Regions from separate parts of the Homo sapiens genome. Here regions 1, 2, 4 and 5 are each linked to region 3. Evidence: promoter capture Hi-C in human tissues and cell types (Jung and others, 2019). All regions are on one chromosome and are shown on one strand. Each heading gives the region's core, a stretch centred on a gene start or on the middle of the fragment in contact. The rest is flanking DNA. Distances are from core to core; before and after follow the strand shown.

Region 1 (4,014 bases), core at 1,203-3,702, 140 kb after region 3:
GGCTGCTTCTTCCCCGGCGGAGGAGCCTCCCCCAGGCTCTCCCACCTGCACTGGCCTCAAGAGAGCTGGGATTGAGCCCCAGTTCAGGCACCTGCTGGCTGGCAGAGGTTAGGGCAAATCACTTTCCTCAGCCCTCTCATCCGTGACAGGCTCTGGTGAGGGTTAAATGAGATGTTGCCCGTCAAGTGCCTGCCACTTCCCTGACGCCGAGCAGCTAGGCTGCTCTGGGTTCTCTAGCACCTGCCTCCCCTGGTCCCAGCGCTGGGTGGGCGGCTGTGTTCTACCGGTCACTGGTGGGTCCTCAGGGCCCCGACACAGGGCCTGCTATTGGGAAAGAGGGAAGTAAACATCCCAGGGCTGGAGCTCTGCCCACTATGGAGGTGTTCCATCTTAGGCTCTGTAATCTCCTCATTCACTCTGGTATGGGGACAAATGTGCCTCTCTGCACTAACTGAGCCCCCATGGGCAACTAGGAGTGGTGTCACTTGGGGTGGAGGTGGGCAAGGATCTCTGGACTGGGATTTCCAAGCCCTGACTTCCTGTTATTTCAGGCACTACCTCATTGTTCCATCTTGGGCAAGACCTGTCCCCTTGAGGGTAAGAGACACATGTGACCTCTGACCTCCAGAGTCTCTCTTCTGAGCTTCTGTGCCCAGATGATTCTGTGTTCTAGGGGACAGGCGAGGCTGGGGGGTGACCCCCATGCCACTGATGGGCAGACTAAGGAGCAGGGGCCCAGGACTGGGGCCAGCTCAGGACTCTGGTGGCCTCGGTGCCCTTGACCTGGTATTGCTGCCGTTTTGCCCCACTGCTGTCTGTCTCCGCGTCCGAGTCACCACCTGTCCCTCTCCAGTCCTCTCCTCTCTTCCTTTATTACTATCTCTATATTGCCTCCTGCCTCAGGCTTATCTCCTCCTGTCATGCCTCTATCCACCTCTGTCACTCCCCTGCGACTCTGCCTCACTCCCTGGCACACCCTCTCCCTCCCTGGGAGTCGGGAGTGGAGCCTCGCTGGGAATCAGGACCCCCCTGCCTCTGGTCTCTGTCTAAGCAGTCTCTGCGATTCTGGCCAGCTCTTATCTTTTTCCACCTTCCCGAATCTCTCTTGCTGTCTGATGGTGTCTCTGCCTTTCACTGTCTCTGAACTCCCTTTGTTTTTCTCTATATGCTTCTCTCTGCTCTTATCTCTGGGCCTCTGTCTCTCAGGGCCTGACTGGTCTTGACCTCTTTGCCTCCTTCTTCCCCTCGAGAGCCCAGCCAGGCAGCAGGTCCAGCCCTCCAGCCCAGAGAACAGATGGAGTCCACCCTCCCTCTCTCTTGCTGGCTGCCTCGGAAGCCCCAAACAATGGCCTCCGCCCTGCACCGTGCCTTGTTGCTAGGCCTTGGGCTGGCAGCACCTGGCTTCCATAGCGACGGGTGCTTAGAAACAGAATGCCACATCTCCCAGTCCCACCACAGGAGCCTTTGCCGATTGAGCGAGTGCCTTTTGATCAATCAGGAAGTGTGGCCAGGCTCTAGGTTGCCTCCAACTTGAGGAGGCAAGAGAGGAGGGGACTGTGGTCTCTGCCTTCTGGAGCTGGGGGGACTGCTGGGCTGGGAGGAGTTGCTCAAGTACAGCCCTGAAGCCAAGGAAGGACTGGGGGAGGCCCTGGGCTCTTTTCCCCAAGTCAGCCTGCTGCAAGAGGCACAAGCTTGGGAGCTGGAAGGGGCTGTGTTGAAATTGCTGTTCCATCATTTCTAGCTGCATGACTTTGGACGAATGACCTCAGGTCCCAGGGCCTCAGTTTCATCAACTGTAAAATTGGGCTAATAATATCATGAAGATTAAATGAGAGAATAGATCTGGCACTTAGTAGGTGGTCATCAATGGCCATTCCCCTCCCTTCCCCTTTAAAGTTGTTTAAAATTTAATTGACAGAGAGGAGAAGGAGGGTTCTTCAGGCCTGTGGAATGGTGTAAGCAAAGGGGTGGAGGCTGGCATGCACCTCACATATGCTGGAGTATTTAGGGAGGACCAGGGGCCATATCTGGAAATGGTTCTGCCAGAAGCAGCCAGGCCAAGCTGGGTGCCATGTCATGCACCTGTAATTCCAGCTACTAGGGAGGCTGAGGCAGGAGGATCACTTGAGCCCTGGAGTTCCAGATCAGCCTGGGCAACATAGTGAGACCCCATCTCAAAAAAACAAAACACAACAGGCAGGCTGATGGGCCCATGGAGAAGGGACTCTGTCTCCTGGGAGGTATATTCTTGCCAGGTGCAAAGGGATGGGCTTGACTAATTTCTCCTCTAGCATTTGGGGCTGCTGGGTAGGGAGCTACATTGGGGTCCCCTTGCTTATTCTCATGCTGCTCCCTACTTCTGCCCTGTCACTTGGTCCCAGGAGAGGGGCTCCCACTGGTTCCTTTTCCCTGCCAGGCCTGCCCACCAAGGCCACCATGGCCACACAGCCTGAATCCTGGGGCCAGCAAGTGTCCATGGAAGGCCCCACTCTGTCATCGTAGAGATCAGGAAACAGGCTCAGAAGTAGGAGGGCTTCCTGGTCCTAGGGCCCAGCTCTTCCCTCTTTTCAGGCCTGTCTTCTGCACTAAGGACTTCAGGCCACCAGGGAAGGTGGGGAGGGAGGAAAGGAGATGAGATAGACTTGGGCGGGGGCCTGAGGACAGAGTTTCATGTCACTTGGGCAGCCAGGAAAGGGTTAAAGATCCCTTATCCCAAGCCATGGGCACTGGCACTGCCAGAGGATGCTGAGGCCTGCTGGGGCATAAGGACAACAAGCAACATCCTTTTCTGAGCTGTTGGGAGTGCCAAGCTCTCTGTTAAATACTTTTGAGCCTCTTCTCATGTATTCACAGCCACCTTTCAAGGAAGGCCAGTTGATCCCCAGTTTAGAAGTGAGAAAACGGGGTCTCCAGGAGGCACTTGTCTAAGGTGACACAGCTGGAGAGTTGGAGATGGTGGTTAGACCGAGTCACCCCCCCAGACCCTGGCCTCTCCCTGCGTGCCCCTTCCAGGACACCCATCACTCCCTTGACACCCCTTGGGAGTGGGTGTTCATTTCCTTGGGCTCTCCCAATCCCAGTCCTTGGTATCCCCAACTGCAGGCAGACACAGGTGCTTGCTGCTGTGCCCTCCCCTTTACCTGGCATCACAGAGACTCAAGCCCACTGACCATTAGGCTCTCAGGGGCATAGAAACCAGGTGCTGGAGTCTTAGAGTCCTGCAATCAGGCATCTCAGGCAGTCAGGACATTAGAATGTTAGAATCTTGGGCTTCTACATTCTCAAGACCCCAGGTTCTCGCATTCACAGAATGTAAGAAAAACAGACTTTTTGAATGATGGGGTGTTATAACAGAAGCTTTGATTTTCTAAGAACATGAAGCTCTGGGAGTTCTTGGAGCCTTGAAGCCATAGACTGGGGCCTCCCTGTGTGATGGTTTCTGAGTTAGCAGGGAGTGTTCAGAGTATGGGGCCTTGGTCCCTGTTGCTTAGACCTTCTTGCCTTGGTATCTCTGATGGGCTCAGCTCTTAGTAGCCTTTGTGTATGTGTGTGTGTGTGTGTGTGTGTGTGTGTGTGTGTGTGTGTGTGTGTGTGTAGTGGGGACTGGGGTCAGGGGTCAGGGACTGACTCTAACCTGAGGCACCCCTGGAGTGGGGCCAGCCCAGGAATAGCAGGTGGAGGAAAGCCGGGCAGCCTCAGGGCTGCAGCTGTCTGGTGGTACAGGGCAGGGCTCTGGGTGGCTGCCTTTGGCAGAGGACCAGCCTGCCTCCTTCGTCCCCTACCCAGCCTGCTACCAGGATCAGGAGGAGGCATCTCCATGGGACTCCTAGGGCTGGAGTCAGAGCAGCCCCTCCAGGTTCTGCAGCCTGGACGGTAGGAGGTGCCACTAAGGGGAGGAGATTGGGGAAGGATTGGGACCTTTATCTGCGGTGAGGTGGGGCACGGGGGGATGAGAGATATAGTGGGAGTCTTTGAAGGGTGTGGGATCAGTGAAGGGGCTGGGGATTTAGTGAT
Region 2 (4,255 bases), core at 107-2,606, 180 kb before region 3:
CCAAGTGTTCTCATTGTTCAATTCCCACCTATGAGTGAGAACATGTGGTGTTTGGTTTTCTGTCCTTGCTGTAGTTTGCTCAGAATGGTGGTTTCCAGCTTCATCCATGTCCCTACAAAGGACATGAACTCATCCTTTTTTATGACTGCATAGTATTCCATGGTGTATATGCCACATTTTCTTAATCCAGTCTATCATTGATGGGCATTTGGGTTGGTTCCAAGTCTTTGCTATTTTGAATAGTGCTGCAGTAAACATATATGTGCATGTGTCTTCAGAGCAGCATGATTTATAATCCTTTGGGTATATACCCAGTAATGGGATTGCTCGGTCAAATGGTATTTCTAGTTCTAGATCCTTGAGGAATCGCCCCAATGGTTGAACTAGTTTACAGTCCCACCAACAGTGTAAAAGTGTTCCTGTTTCTTCACATCCTCTCCAGCACCTGTTGTTTCCTGACTTTTTAGTGATTGCCATTCTAACTGGTGTGAGAGCGTGCTCGCTTCGGCAGCACATATACTAAAATTCTAACTGGTGTGAGATGGTATCTCATTGTAGTTTTGATTTGCATTTCTCTGATGGCCAGTGATGATGCTTTTGCTCATTTTAAAAATCAGATTATTAGATTTTTTTTTCCTATAGAGTTGTTTGAGCTCCTTATATATTCTGGTTATTAATCCCTTGTCAACTGGATAATTTACAAATATTTTTTACCATTCCATGGGCTGTCTCTGCACTTTGTTGATTGTTTACTTTGCTGTGCAGAAGTTTTTTAACTTGATGTGATCCCATTTGTCCATTTTTGCTTTGATTGCCTGTGCTTACAGGGTATTACTCAAGAAATCTTTGCCCAGTCCAGTGTCTTAGAGAATTTCCCCCAATGCTTTATTTTAATAGTTTTGGGCTGGGTGTAGTGGCTCACACCTGTAATCCCAGCGCTTTGGGAGGCCAAGGCAGGTGGATCACAAGGTCAGGAGTTCAAGACCACCTGGCCAATATGGTGAAATGCTGTCTCTACTAAAAATACAAAAATTAGCCAGGTGTGGTGGTGGGCACCTGTAGTCCCAGCTACTCAGGAGGCTGAGGCAGGAGAATCGCTTGAACCGGGAAGTGGAGGTCACAGTGTGCCGAGATCATGCCACTGCACTCCAGCCTGGGCAACAGAGCAAGACTCTGTCTCAAAAAAAAAAAAAAAGTTTCATAGTTTGAGGTCTTAGATTTAAGTCTTTAATTCATTCTGATTTGATTTTTGTATATGGTGAGAGATAGGGGTCTAGTTTCATTCTTCTGCATATGGATGTCCAGTTTTCCCAGCACTTTTCCCCCAGTGTATGTTCTTAGCACCATTGTTGAAAATGAGTTCACTGTAGATGTATGGATTTGATTCTGGGTTCTGTCTTCTGTTCCATTGGTCTGTGAGTCTATTTTTATGCCAGTACCATACTGTTTTGGTTACTATAGCTCTGTAGTATAATTTGAAGTTAGGTAATGTGATTCCTCCAGTTTTCTTTTCCCCAGCCTAATTATTCTGAAGAATAAGATCAGGCCTGGCACAGTGGCTTACACCTGTCATCCCAGCACTTTGGAAGGCGGGGGTGGGAGGATCACTTGAGTCCAAGCGTTTGAGACCAGCCTGGGCAGCATAGTGAGACTTTGTCTCTACAAAAAAATTTAAAAATTAGCACGTGCTTGTAGTCCCAGCTACTCAGGAGGCTGAAGTGGGAAGATAACTTGAGCCCAGGAATTGAAGGCTACAGTGAGCTATGATCCTGCCACAGCACTCCAGCCTGGGTGACAAAGTGAGACCTCATCTCTTAAAAAAAGGAAATAAAAAGAATAAGTTCATGTTGATATCTAAATACAAGTATTTGGACAGATTCCCCAAGAAATACTATTTATTTCTTATGCCAGTAGTTACTAGAGCAGATACTGAATATATCTTTCTCTGTCTGTATATTATTAGGCAGATTTCTTTAAACTCTAAACTAAAACAAACAAACAAAAAACTATTGCTAGACCCTGGAAATCAGATAACTGATTTCATCAAATCTACAGAAATCAACTCAGCTGGTTTGTGGTGAGATAATTTGTTCCTCACATGTTCCTTTTTCATAGCATGTTCTTGTGCAATATATGAACTAACATTTTTTAGAAGCTTGTGAAATATTTTCTTTGTGGTTTGGATGAGGAAGAATGAGATACAGTGTGTCATAGTAGAAAAGAGAACAAACGTCAATTTAATGGAAGATTTTTTAAAAGCTTAGTAATTCTTAATAGGATTTATTTCTAGACAAATATTTCTTCAGTGGAAGCCAAACATACATTGACTAGTTGATAATTTGGTGAAGTAATAAAAGATAAACATCTTTCTGTATGGCAGAAATCTAGAAAATATAATTTGACTTATCTTTTGCAGACTTTTTTTGATCAAATGAAGAGAAAAACATTAATATACAAATCCTTTCTAAAATTGATACATAATAACTATATATTTATAGTGTATGTGTGATATTTTGATGCATGCGTACAATGTGTAAGGATCAAATGGGGGTAATTGAGATATCCATCATCTCAAATATTTATTATATATCATGGAGTGTTGAGAACATTTCCAAATCTTCTCTCCTACCTGTTTTAGAATATACCATAAATTATTGTTAACTATAGTCACCCTGCTGTGCTATTAAACAGTAGAATGTATTCCTTCTATCTGACTGTAATTTTATACCCATTAACCAACCTCTCATTGGCCCCACCTTCCTATCCTTCCCAACCTCTGGTAACCACCAATCTACTCTCTACTGCTGGATATATATCCAAATGAATGGAAATCAGTATGTTGAAGAGATGTCTTATAGCACTATTCACAATAGCTAAGATGTGGAATCAACCTAAATGTCCGTCAGTGGATAAATGGATAAAGAAAATGTAGTATATATACACAATGAAATATTATTCAGCCATAAAGAAGATTGAAATCCTGTCATTTGCAATAACATGGATGACCCTAGAGGACATTATGTTAAGTGAAATAAGCCAGGAACAGAAAGCCAAGTTCTTTTTCGGTTTTTCTGGCTAAGCATTAATTCCAAAAATCTTCCTCATTCATATGTAGGCGTATATAACTCATCTTTTTTATTTTGAGTTGTGGCTCTTCTGGTTTCTCTGTCGTCTCTAGCTCTTGTACCTCTGATTCACCTAATGTCTGTTTACTTAATTAATTAGCATGGAAGTCTTCAATTCTATTAAATTCTGCTTAATTCTGCTTTAATTCTGTTAAATCTCTGCTTCTCTTGCTTTATATCCTTTTTTTTTTAATGCCCTCTTTCTTGGAGAGAGTAATCATTTGACTCAGTTCCCATAAATACCATATGATTCTCAAATCTGTCTGCAGCCTGCCCTTTAATTATTCATATTTGTGCCTTTACCACTGGTACTTGTGAATACTGAAAGTAACTAAAAATAAATGCATTTTAAAATTCTGTTTCTCAGTCCCAGTAGCCATATTTCAAATGCTTAAAGGCCACATGTGACTAGTGTCTACCATGTTGGACAGTGCAGATATAGAACATTTTTGCCATCTTAGAAAACTCTGTTGAACAGCAGTGCTCTAAAGCTTATTTTGTTTTTACTTGTTATGGTTTGAATGTGTCCTCTAAAGTTCATGTGTTGGAAACCTAATTCCCAATGCAACAATACTGAGAAGTGGGACTTTTAAAAGGTCATTAGGTCATGAGGGCAGAGCCCTTATGAATGGATTATTGCCATTGTTGTGAGAGTGAGTTATTTATTACAGGAGTGGGTTCCTGATAAAAGGAAAAGTTTGGCCCCTTTCCACTTTCCCTCTTGTGTTCTGTTGCTCTTCTGCTTTCTACCATGGGATGATACAGCGTGAAGGCCCTTGCCAGATACAGGCCCCTACACCTGGACTTCCCAGTCCCGAGAACCATGAACCAAATAAACGTCTGTTGTTTATAATTACCCAGTTTGTGGTATTCTGTTATAGCAACAGAAAATGGACCAAAACTTTGTTTTCTTCCATCCCGCCCCCCGCCCTTACCTGTCTGTTATCAACTCTGCTGGTCATTTTTCCCAGTAACCACTTGGTTATATTTGATTATTTCACAATTAATTGCTCCTTCATTTGCACTCTAGGTCTTTACTTATATCTTGTTAAAGAACAGAGGTTGGCAAACATTTCTTGTAAAGGGACAGATAATAAATAGGCTTCTGTGTTGTGGTTACTCAGTTCAGC
Region 3 (3,765 bases), core at 1,209-3,708:
AAAAAAAAATTGCTGGGCATGGTGGTGAGCACCTGTAATCCCAGCTACTCAGGAGGCTGAGGCGGGAGAATCTCTTGAACCCAGGAGGCAGAGGTTGCAGTGAGCCAAGATCACGACACTGCACTCCAGCCTGAGCGACAGAGCAAGACTCCTTCTCAAAAAAAAAAAAAAAATTAGCTGGGCGTGTTGGTGTGCGCCTGTAATCTCAGCTACTTGGGAGGCTGAAGTAGAAGAATCCCTTGAACCTGGCAGGCGGAGGTTGCAGTGAGCCAAGATCGTTGCAGTGAGCCACTGCACTCCAGCCAGGGTGACAGAATAAGACTCCATCTAAAAAAAAAAAAAAAAAAGGCAAAACATAATTAAAGTGAGAATTAAAAAAAAATTAGCCAGGTGTAGTGGTGTGTGCCTATAAACACAGCTACTCAGGAGGTTGAGGTGGGAGAATAGATTGAGCCCAGGAGGTCCAGGCTGCAGTGAACAATGGTCTTGCCTCCAGCCTGGGTGACAGAATGAGACCCTGTCTCAAAAAAACAAAAACAAGGCCGGGCACAGTGGCTCACACCTGTAATCCCAGCACTTTGGGAGGCCGAGGTGGGCGGATCACACGGTCAGGAGATCGAGACCATCCTGGCTAACACGGTGAAACCCCATCTCTACTAAAAAAATACAAAAAAAAAAATTAGCCCGGCGTGGTGGCGGGTGCCTGTAGACCCAGCTACTCAGGAGGCTGAGGCAGGAGAATGGCATGAACCCGGGAGGCGGAGCTGGCAGTGAGCCCCAGATCATGCCACTGCACTCCAGCCTAGATGACAGAGCAAGTCTCCGTCTCAAAAAAAAAAACAAAAAACAAAAAAAAAACCACAAACGAACAGCCCCTGCCCTCCCCCCAAAAAAGACAAACTGCATCTCACACACAGGTGACCCCTGTGAATACAGTCTCTGAGGAGTGATGGAAGAGGAAGCCCTGTGAGAGGTGCAGACTGCTACCCTCTAGAACACCAGGATGCCTAAATAGTAGAGGGCAGTTTCATTAGCGACATCAGTTTGCAAACTGAAAAGAGACACTCTCCTGTAGGTACCAAAGGTGCTCTCTCTTTGTATAGGGAAAAGGCAGGCTGGTTGTTTTTTGTTTTTGTTTTTTGAGACGGAGTCTCGCTCAGTCGCCCAGGCTGGAATGCAGTGGTGCGATCTCGGCTCACTGCAACCTCCACCTCCCAGGTTCATGCCATTCTCCTGCCTCAGCCTCCCGAGTAGCTGGGACTACAGGCGCCCGCCACCACACCCAGCTAATTTTTTTGTATTTTTAGTAGAGACGGGGTTTCACCATGTTAGCCAGGATGGTCTCAATCTTCTGACCTCGTGATCCGCCCGTCTTGGCCTCCCAAAGTGCTGGGATTACAGGCGTGAGCCACCACTCCCGGCCTAGGCTGGTTTATGACTCACAGGGTCTGTATTTCACAATAATCATACATATTCAGCAGGTTTTGGGGAAAAGCTATACATATTTATGAGGGGATGTGAGTGCATGCACAATGGGTAAACACCTGTAACATATGTTCCATGTTCACTTTGGGATGGGGTTTTTGCGTTAAAGTGAGGTGGAATTTGGTTCTTTGCATCATAAGGTGGACTATAGGACACAAACACAGTTTGCGTGCAGTCTCTATGAGCTTGCTGAAACTGGCCTGAGGTCTGCAGTTACTTATCAGGAAAGAATGTTTGTAAGGCCTGTCCTCTGTCGATCAGCGTTGTAGTGGTCTGAGTTGTAAATCTCAGTAAAGAAGAGTCTGACAATTTGCATGATAGCTCCTATTGCTAGGGGTTTAGTAAGAGTGTGGTTTTTCTGGCAGCAGTAGAAATTTAAGAAGTTGCCATGCCAGCTGACAGCTGAGCCCTGAGGTAGGCAACGTTTGTTTCCTTAACCTTAACCTTAAGGTCCATCGTAGTTGATAAAAAGGCATCTGGCCAGGCCTGATGGCTCACGCCTATAATCCCAGCACTTTGGGAGGGTGAGGCGGGAGGCCAGCAGTTCTGGGGCCACTGCACTCCAGCCTGACAGACAGAGACCCTGTCTCAAAAAATAAATAAATAAAAAAGATAAAGGGGCATTTGTCTTGATCGCTCAGATCACACAACTAATAAGTAGCATTCTTTCTAAAAGCCGCAACAATGCTACTCCTCTCTTATAAGAGCTACTGTGTAACTCCTGCCCAACTCAAACCCACAGGCCCAGGCTCAGAACACTTGGCTCCATTGCTTCACTGTTTCCCTGCTAGCACGAACCCCCCAAACTCCATCTCCCAACATGCCGCGGGCCCCCTTTCTGTCAGCCTGACTCTTGAGCTCCTGAGAAATGTAGTTTTTCCAGCGGCCCAGCCCCAGAAAGGTCCTAGCCAAGAACTACAGTTCCCATGTGGCAATGCGCGCGCCATTCCGGTGGAATTCACCGCGGTCTCCAGTTTGCCATGATGGATGCCAGAACCTGCACGTGGGGCTTGGTGACGCGATGACTGAGATGCTGGAGTCCCCGGTCAGAAGGACGATGCCGAGCGCGCCGTATTTTCTCCTGCCTCTCCTCAGATCGCCGCCGTTGTTGGGCTGTGGAGACGTCTCAACCAAAGTGGAGCCGACAGAGGCCCCGGGAGCCGTGGTGACAGAGCGGCCACAACCACTAGGGGGCGGGAGGCAGAGCGGCCCCTAGTCCGCCCCTAGTCCGGGACCTCTGGGCGGTCCCGGGCGGGAAGCGCACGCGCAAACGCGGGGCTTCGCGGCCGCTGTAAACACCAAAGAGCGCCTGCGCAAGCCGAGAGTCTCGGGATCGACACGTGGGGGCGCCTGAGCGAAGATAACCGTAATAAATAGTAACCTAACGGTCCAGTCATCGTTCTGTGGTCCTTTCTTTTATGATTCACAAGGAATGACCCTCTTCATCGCCTCTCCTAATTCAGTCCTCACAACAGTCCTTTTACAAATGGGACAACAGGTTAGAGGAAGTCAGGCAGATTTCCAGCATCATAGAGAGTAAAGGACCAGGGAAGGATCAGGATTCAAGGACTGCACCCAGGCTCTGCTTCCAGCTTGCTGTGTGACTTTGGGTAATTTTGTTCCCTTAGGGAACTGAGCTTTCTCATTTGTAAATGCAAACAGGCTGTTGGGAGGATCAAATGAGATCCAGGGGTGAAAACAGCTTAGTTTACTTTCAGGAATTTACCCACGCGGTATATAAAGGCAAAATATTATTATAGTCAGGTGATTGTAGATTGAGGAACCCATTTCCTCATTCTGCAAATTGCAAACCTGAGGGCCCAAAGAGGGACAGGGGCTTGCCCCAGGTCTCAGCAGGCTGTGAGCAAGAGCTAAAGCCTAATCCTCCTGCCTTTGGGCCTGGAGCCCTTCCTTGTACCCCAGGGGTCAGTGTCTTTGTTGGATACAGGCTTAGATTGACTGACTGTACCCTGAGAACCTAGGGGAGTCCCTGTTCCCAATTCTTCTCCTACCCCCACCTTGGCCTGATGGAGGAAGACCCTGCTGTGTTGAGATGAGCACCAGAGCCAAGAAGCTGAGGAGGATCTGGAGAATTCTGGAGGAAGAGGAGAGTGTTGCTGGAGCTGTACAGACCCTGCTTCTCAGGTCAGTGGCCCAAGTAAGGGAAAGAACCCAGGTGTGACAGATGAGGGGGCAGCACTAAGGGGACAGACTCTGAATGGAAAGGAGTGGGAAGGCAGTGGACACTGTTTCTGAGCTTGGGAGGAATTGGGTACTCAG
Region 4 (3,910 bases), core at 253-2,752, 200 kb before region 3:
TTTTGCCATTCTTATGTTTACTTAACCATACTTTTGTCCGTATCTTTCACATTTATACTAGAGTTTACTTACCATCCTTGAAATATTGTGGTTCACATTTGTATAACACTTTAGAGTTTGCAAACTGCTGCCATATCCATTATAGTCACATTTGATTTTTACACAACCCTGATAGTATTTAAGTATTATTATTTTACAAATGATAAAACTAAAGCTAAAAATGTTAAAGAGACTTAGGTAGTAAATAACAGAGTGGGAACTTGAATATACTACTACTTCCTAATTCCAAATCCTGTACAATGCTTTTAAAACAAAGCTTAATATTGAAACAGGTTTATAGAAAAATACATGTAAATGCCTTCACCATAGTAGACTACTTAATTCTCTTACTCCTTTTATCTTGCTCCTTTTATCCTCATTCTCCCAATTTCCTAATTAATTGTTCATGTTTCTACATAACCTTTATGTTTATTATTTTTTATTATTTTGTGAATTTTCCATTCTGCTTTCTTTAATTATACAACTGGGTTTGGACATTACCCTTAAGTCTACAGTAAAAATTAACTTTTTAAATTTTTTTCTTAGGATAAATTTCTAGGGCATTATTACTGGGTTAGAGAACCTAATCATTTGTAGGACTTCGATGTGTTGGCCCAGGTTACTTTTATTTGTATTCTTATATTCAAGTTATTAGCAAGTTTATTATTGTGTCTCTGTCATACTCAGAGACTATACTTTTAACTTCTTCCTTTTTTTTTTTTTTTTGAGACAGAATTTTTCTCTGCTCTGTCACCCCTGCTAGAGTGCAGTGGCATGAACACGGCTCACTGTGGCCTCAACCTCTTGGGCTCAAGTGATCCTTCCACCCCAGCCTCCCAAGTAGTTGGGACTACAGGTGCTTGCCACCACACCTGGCTGATTTTTGTACTTTTTTTTTAGAGATGAGGTTTCACCATGTTGCCCAGGGTGGTCTCGAACTCCAGGGCTCAAGATATCTGGCCGCCTCAGCCTCCCAAAGTGCTAAGATTACAGGTGTGAGCCACCGCACCTGGCCCAGTTTTTGGTTCTTAATATCAAAATTGTAGCCATGGAGCCTGCTTTTAGCTCTTCACACCTGCAAACACAGCATTATTAGAATGTTTAGCACTTCTTTATGGGAGTGTCAGGTTGTCATCTTGTCATTTATTAAACAAAAACTTTGTATTTGATAAGTACTATTACAATTTAGGGGGAAAACAGCTTTTCGTTCTGCAAGATAAAAGCTTACTTTTAGTTTATATGTAACAAAATACTATTCGGCGATAAAAAGGAATGAAGTACTGACACCTGCTACAACTTGAATGAACCCTAAAAATGTTTTGATAAGTGAAAGAAGTGAGAAACATAAGGCCACATATTATTTGATTCCATTTGTACTAAATATCCCAAAAAGGAACTCCATAGAGACAAAAATAGATTAATTGTTGTTGGAAGTGGGGAGAAATGGGGAGTGACAGCTAATGGATACAGAGTTTCTTTTTGGGGTAGGAAAATGTTTTGGAATTCAAGCAGAGTAATGGTTGAACAACCTTGTCACCACTGAATTGTATACTTTAAAAAGGTGAATTTTGTTGTATGTGAATTATATGTCAATTTTTTAAAAGCTTTTAAGATAAACTACATCTATAAGATACAGTTTGCACTATATCTTTTTTTTGTTTTGTTTTTTGAGATGGAGTCTCGCTCTGTCACCCAGGCTGGAGTGCAGTGGCATGATCTCGGCTCACTGCAAGCTCTACCTCCTGGGTTCAAGCCATTCTCCTGCCTCAGCCTCCCGAGTAGCTGGGACTACAGGCGCCCACCACCACACCCAGCTAATTTTTTTGTATTTTTAGTAGAGACGGGGTTTCACCGTGAGTTTACACTATATCTTAAAACATGGTCATCACAGAACTAGGGTACACACTTTAATGGGTTCCATAGTAAATGGTATCATCACATCCTTGCCGTGTGACTCAGAGTAAATTATTTAACATCTGAGTCTATTTTCTCATCTTAATGGGATCACTGCTACTACTACTACTGCTGCTGCTGCTACTACTACTACTACCTTTTTCATAGAGTCGTTTCAAGGACTAAATGTGATAATACCTGTAAAGTACGAAACATAGCACCTGTGCAGTGCCCACAAGGGGTCTTTTTAGAAGTAATAAGCATTCAGACTCCCTTGGCTCTCATAGGCCACACCTGACAAGAGGTTTACTGAGAAGGACAGAGTACAGGAAACACAATTTGCCAGTAGGGAAGCATCTAGCATTAATGGAAATAATTCTCCCACTATTGTATGTCTCGGTCCACATAGCTGACCAGTTATTCTGTTTGGTCCTCCAAGTGACAGGTCTAGGACAAGGGAGTGAGACACATTTGCAGAGCCAGCTTTAGCCCCTAAAGGAGACTAAAATTTTTTACAACAACTCTATAGACAGAGCTTCCAGTGTCCCTGTAAGGGACATGTCCGGATACACCGTACTCACAGAAGCCCAAAGCCTGGCTTTTCTATCCGATATTTATTTATTTATTTATTTTTATTATACTTTAAGTTTTAGGGTACATGTGCACAACGTGCAGGTTAGTTACATATGTATACAGTGCCATGTTGGTGTGCTGCACCCAGTAACTCGTCATTTAACATTAGGTATATCTCCAAATGCTATCCCTCCCCCCTCCCCTCACCCCACAACAGGCCCCAGTGTGTGATGTTCCCCTTCCTGTGTCCATGTGTTCTCATTGTTCAATTCCCACCTATGAGTGAGAACATGCGGTGTTTGGTTTTTTGTCCTTGCGATAGTCTGCTGAGAATGATGGTTTCCAGCTTCATCCATGTCCCTACAAAGGACATGAACTCATCATTTTTATGGCTGCATAGTATTCCATGGTGTATATGTGCCACATTTTCTTAATCCAGTCTATCATTGTTGGACATTTGGGTTGGTTCCAAGTCTTTCCTATTGTGAATAGTGCCACAATAAACATATGTGTGCATGTGTCTCTATAGCAGCATGATTTATAATCCTTTGGGTATATACCCAGTAATGGGATGGCTGGGTCAAATGGTATTTCTAGTTCTAGATCCCTGAGGAATCGCCACACTGACTTCCACAATGGTTGAACTAGTTTACATTCCCACCAACAGTGTAAAAGTGTTCCTATTTCTCCACATCCTCTCCAGCACCTGTTGTTTCCTGACTTTCTAATGATCGCCATTCTAACTGGTGTGAGATGGTATCTCATTGTGGTTTTGATTTGCATTTCTCTGATGGCCAGTGATGATGAGCATTTTTTCATGTGTCTGTTGGCTGCATAAATGTCTTCTTTTGAGAAGTGTCTGTTCATATCCTTTGCCCACTTTTTGATGGGGTTGTTTGTTTTTTTCTTGTAAATTTGTTTGAGTTCATTGTAGATTCTGGTTATTAGCCCTTTGTCAGATGAGTAGATTGCAAAAATGTTCTCCCATTCTGTAGGTTGCCTGTTCACTCTGATGGTAGTTCCTTTTGCTGTGCAGAAGCTCTTTAGTTTAATTAGATCCTATTTGTCAATTTTGGCTTTTGTTGCCATTGCTTTTCGTGTTTTAGACATGAAGTCCTTGCCTATGCCTGTGTCCTGAATGGTATTGCCTAGCTTTTCTTCTAGGGTTTTTATGGTTTTAGGTCTAACATTTAAGTCTTTAATCCATCTTGAATTAATTTTTGTATAAGGTGTAAGGAAGGGATCCAGTTTCAGCTTTCTACATATGGCTAGCCAGTATTCCCAGCACCATTTATTAAATAGGGAATCGTTTCCCCATTTCTTGTTTTTGTCAGGTTTGTCAAAGATCAGATAGTTGTAGATATGTGGCATTATTTCTGAGGGCTCTGTTCGGTTCCATTGGTCT
Region 5 (4,266 bases), core at 98-2,597, 130 kb before region 3:
CTGATCTCTTGATCCGCCCACCTCAGCCTCTCAAAGTGCTGGGATTACAGGCGTGACCCACCACACCCAACCTGACAACCTAATTTAAAAATGAGTTAAGGACTTGAGTAGGCTTTTCACCAAAGAAGATATACAAATGGCCAAATAAGCACATGAAAAGTTGCTCAACATAGTCATTAGAGAAATGCAAATCAAAACTACAAAGATATACCGTTCCTAATCACTAATATGGCTTTCATAATTTAAAAAAAAAATACCAAAATACAAAAGAATAAGTGTTGGCAAGGGTGTGGAGAATTTGAACCCTCATACATTGCTAGTAGAAAGGTAAAATGTTGCAGTCACTGGAAAACAGTTTGACAGTTCCTCAAAATTAAACATAGAGTTATCATATGACCGAGCAATTCCATTCCTGGGTATATTCCCAAGAGAAATGGAAACAGGTGCTCAAACAAAACCTTGTACACAAATGTTCATAGCAGCATTATTTATTTATTTTTTAACTTTGCAGCATTATTTATAATAGTCAAAAAATGGGGAAAAGGCAAATTTATATCACCTGATTAATAAACAAAATGTGGTACAACTGAATATTATTAAGCTGTAAAAAGGAATGAAGTACTGATAAATCAATGAGCCTTGAAAATATTATGCTGGGCAACAGAAGCCAGGCACCAAAAGTCATATATTATATGATTTGATTTATATGAAATATCCAGAGTAGGCAAATCCATAGAGGTAGAAAGCAGACTAGTGGTTGCCAGGGGCTGGGGGAAGGAAGGGATGGAGAATGACCACTTAACAGGTACAGTGTTTTTGGAGAAGTGGTGGAAATGTTCTGGAATTAGATAATGGAAATTGTTAAACAACTTTGTCAGTGTACTAAAAGCCACTGAGTTGTACACTTTAAAATTATTAAAATGGTGACTTATATTGGGTGAATTTTACCTCAATTTTTACCTCTACTGATTGGCAAGACTTCAGAACCTTGATTATTATTAATTATTATTATTATATTTTTCCATAGTTATTGCTAGTGTATATGTCATATGTATATTCTGTTTTTTTAACCTAAAATTATTTGATACATACTTGTCATCTATACAGTTTCCACGGTTTTTATTTTGGTGACAGTACACATCATAGCTTAATCATTCCTCAAATGTTCAGTGATTTTCTCTCCTTTTTTTTTATTTCAAAGATCCCTGTTACAAAATGTTTAAGGAAATAAGAATGTTTCCAACCCTTCATAGATATTACACTGGGTTTTCTTCCCCAAAGCAGTATCTCTGAGTCACTTTTCTTTTTTTAATATTTCTATTGTGTTTTTTCTGTCACTGCTGTTCAGTAAATATACATATACCAATGTATAATCCTACCAATAATGGATTGGGGGAAAACGGAGATTATTGTAGAGTGTCTACTCTTTTCCAGGCACTGCACCTGCATCCTTTCACGTTTATTATTTCACTTAACTCCTACACCTAAGCAGATGAGCAAAGATCAGAACCCACGCATTTTGTCTCTAAGTTGTGTCCTGTTTTCCCACAGCTTTACCAATATTGGATCTTACCTCTTTTAGTTCCTGTTTATTAGAGAGATTCAACATTTTCTCAAGTGATTGTTAACTGTTCATATTTACTTACAATCTGTATCTTTTGTCCATTTATTATTAATAATAAATTTTAAACTGAACATACCTACTTTTCTCATAGGCAGAAGATATCATATGTCAAGGCTTTACTGTAATTTTTTTTCTTTTATTTACTCCTCTATTACAGGCTCTTGATGGAAATGTGTATGATCATCTCAAGGATTATTTAATAGCCTTCAGCCGGACTGAGCTAGAAACATGCCAAGCTGTGCAGAACACATTCCAGTTTTTATTAGAAAACTCCAGCAAGGTAAGTTACCTTTAGTGCAACGTGTAGTGTTATCCAACTTAGAAGCTAAAGTATTTCTGCATACAAAGAAAATGAAGGTACTAGTGATATTAGAAGAATGCATTAACGAACAAATTTCCTGGTAACAGCATTCCTTCTAACAAAGTTGGAGGAGATTCTGTTCTCCTTGTTGATGAGTTGAAGATGGCACCAAGGGCAAAAAGAGAGGTGCTGATACAAGGTAGCTTAGAACATTGGCCCATTGCCATGTGCATTGCCTTTGAGAAGGGTTTAAACAGTTTTGTATTCTACTCAGAGTTTAAATGCACTCTGCTCACATGGGGGAAACAACAGGTCATGTGTCAGTACAAAGAGTACTAAAAGAGCACGAAGGGAAAAGGAGCGTTTTGTAATTGATATAAAAACAACAGTGTCTTGGGTTTTTTTCAAATTAAGCCCTACTATCTATATGCTGTCATTCTTTGACAGCAGTCGTTTCATTTAAAAGTGTTGAGATCCATCAGGTTTGCTGACATGTCACATTGTATGCAGAGAAAATAAATGCAATGACTTTTCTTCAAGATTTGATAGATTAAAATGTTTTGCAGTCGTGAAACTATCCTTTGGAAGATAAATTGTTCCTGTGGTTGGCAAATGTTTTTTATCTGATAAATTAAATTCACAATAAATGTTTCCTGACTAAAGGAATGCATTTTTTAAAAATACGCATTTCATAACTGCTACTTTAAAAGATCCAGTTCAATTTTTTTTTTTTGTCAGGGAGAGTGAGAACTGGCTAATACTTTTAGGAGAGGGATCAGGATATCCATTTTCACATGACAGTGTCCAAAGACAGGAAAGAAAAGCACAGACTCTTCATCCTGAATGCCTCTTGTATATATATTCTTGTTTTCACTGTACCAGAGCTCTCAATTCTGTGTTTATAAAAGTGTTAAAAATGCTAGGTTGATACGGAAATACAAAAATCACTAGCCTGGTGCTTTGAAGTCCTGTCATGTATCTGTTTTCCTATATTGTCATCCCCCAAAATCTAAGAGAAAAGGAAAATGTAGTAAAACATTAATTGAGGAATCTATGTAGTATGTATATAAGTATTTACTGTATAATTTGTTTGATTTTAATGTATATATATTTGAATTTTTCAGAAAAGAATGTTGGGGGAAAAGTCTATGAAAAAATCTTATCTTTGTTCCTTCTATGAAGTGGTTGATTTTTGAGTGAACAATTTTGTTGTTGTTGTTGTTATTTTTAGTAGAGACAAGGTTTCAACATGTTGATCAGGCTGGTCTTGAAGTCCTGGCCTCAAGTGGTCCACCCGCCTTGCCTCTCAAAGTGCTGGGATTACAGGCATGAGCCACCATGCCCAGCCGTGATCAAATTTTTTATGTTTATTTGTCCATTTAGATTTTCTGTCTCTTTTTCAGTATATTTGGGTAACTTACATTTTCCTGGACAATTGTCCATTTCATTAAAATGTCCAATTTTCCTAGGCAGTTGTCCATTTCATTTATCAGATTTGATGTCATAAACTTGTTTGCTTCTAGAATTGTCTCTGTTTTTGTTTTTAATATTGTGTGTGCCCTCTGTCTTATTTTGACCAGACTTGCCAGTCTATTTTATTAATCTTTGCCAAGAACCAGATAAAATGACCTTTATTCTGCTTCTCAGTGTTGTGTCTATTTCCTTAATTTTTGCCTTTATATTCATTATTTCTACTGTCTTACAGTTTATGTTATTGTTCTTTCTCAAGCTTCTTTTTCTATTTAGATCCTATATTTTCAGTCTTTCTTGTTTTTAAGTAAATTTGTTTAAAGCTTTTAAAAAAGTGTCTTTCTGCTTGAACTGCATTCTGTGATATGTAGGGCTTTTGTTTTATATCTATTTTTTTCTCCTTATTAACCCATGATTATTTAGAAATGAGTTTTTCAGTTTCCATTCAGTTGGAATATGTGGTAGGGTGACATTTTTATTTCTAATTTTATTATAAATTGTATTTTTAATCCAACGACATTTATTCTAATTTTATTATAAATTGTATTTTTAATCCAACGACATTTATTCTAATTTTATCAGAGAGGTTATCTTCTAGCAAAATTCTTTGAAATGTTTTTTTCCAAGAATAAGTTGGACTGGAGACACTACCCTTAGTTTATAAAACAGGAAACATTATAGTCGTAACAGATAGCTAATATTTTACACACACTTAACAATTTCTTAAGACTTTTAGCATGGGATATATCTTGAATCCCATGAGGTCGCCATTACCATGTTCATTTTATATGGAGGAAATTGGACTCAGAAGTTTATGTGGCTTGGCCTGAGGTTACACACTCACACATAGTGCTTTCCATGATCTTCTACT

What was found. Contacts are between HindIII fragments. The study calls those that stand out against the background at their distance.
Region 1: a contact is called between a fragment that was not itself captured here and the fragment with the promoter of STARD10 in region 3, in 6 of the 25 tissues and cell types used here (H1 embryonic stem cells, bladder, heart left ventricle and 3 more).
Region 2: a fragment that was not itself captured here is called in contact with the fragment with the promoter of STARD10 in region 3 in 4 of the 25 tissues and cell types used here (hippocampus, mesenchymal stem cells, small bowel and 1 more).
Region 4: a contact is called between a fragment that was not itself captured here and the fragment with the promoter of STARD10 in region 3, in 2 of the 25 tissues and cell types used here (hippocampus and pancreas).
Region 5: a contact is called between a fragment that was not itself captured here and the fragment with the promoter of STARD10 in region 3, in 2 of the 25 tissues and cell types used here (aorta and spleen).

The regions. Positions count from the first base shown.
Region 1 is chr11:72,650,458-72,654,471 of GRCh38, reverse strand. All of the region lies in intron 1 of PDE2A (phosphodiesterase 2A), which reads left to right. Among named protein-coding and RNA genes, the nearest start is that of PDE2A-AS1, 8.3 kb to the left of the region's middle. RefSeq lists an enhancer at 1,163-1,708. The HindIII fragment of the contact is 5,548 bases long and covers 1-4,014 here.
Region 2 is chr11:72,973,869-72,978,123 of GRCh38, reverse strand. The region is part of intron 8 of FCHSD2 (FCH and double SH3 domains 2); the gene reads left to right. Among named protein-coding and RNA genes, the nearest start is that of ATG16L2, 160 kb to the right of the region's middle. The HindIII fragment of the contact is 5,357 bases long and covers 1-4,034 here.
Region 3 is chr11:72,792,740-72,796,504 of GRCh38, reverse strand. STARD10 (StAR related lipid transfer domain containing 10) reads left to right here and starts at 2,458. Exons shown (of 7, transcript NM_006645.3): 1 at 2,458-3,630. RefSeq lists an enhancer at 2,133-2,702. The HindIII fragment of the contact is 19,379 bases long and covers 1-3,765 here.
Region 4 is chr11:72,992,564-72,996,473 of GRCh38, reverse strand. All of the region lies in intron 5 of FCHSD2 (FCH and double SH3 domains 2), which reads left to right. Among named protein-coding and RNA genes, the nearest start is that of FCHSD2, 150 kb to the left of the region's middle. The HindIII fragment of the contact is 3,610 bases long and covers 1-3,307 here.
Region 5 is chr11:72,919,466-72,923,731 of GRCh38, reverse strand. FCHSD2 (FCH and double SH3 domains 2) reads left to right here. Exons shown (of 20, transcript NM_014824.3): 9 at 1,782-1,904. Among named protein-coding and RNA genes, the nearest start is that of ATG16L2, 110 kb to the right of the region's middle. The HindIII fragment of the contact is 9,036 bases long and covers 1-4,266 here.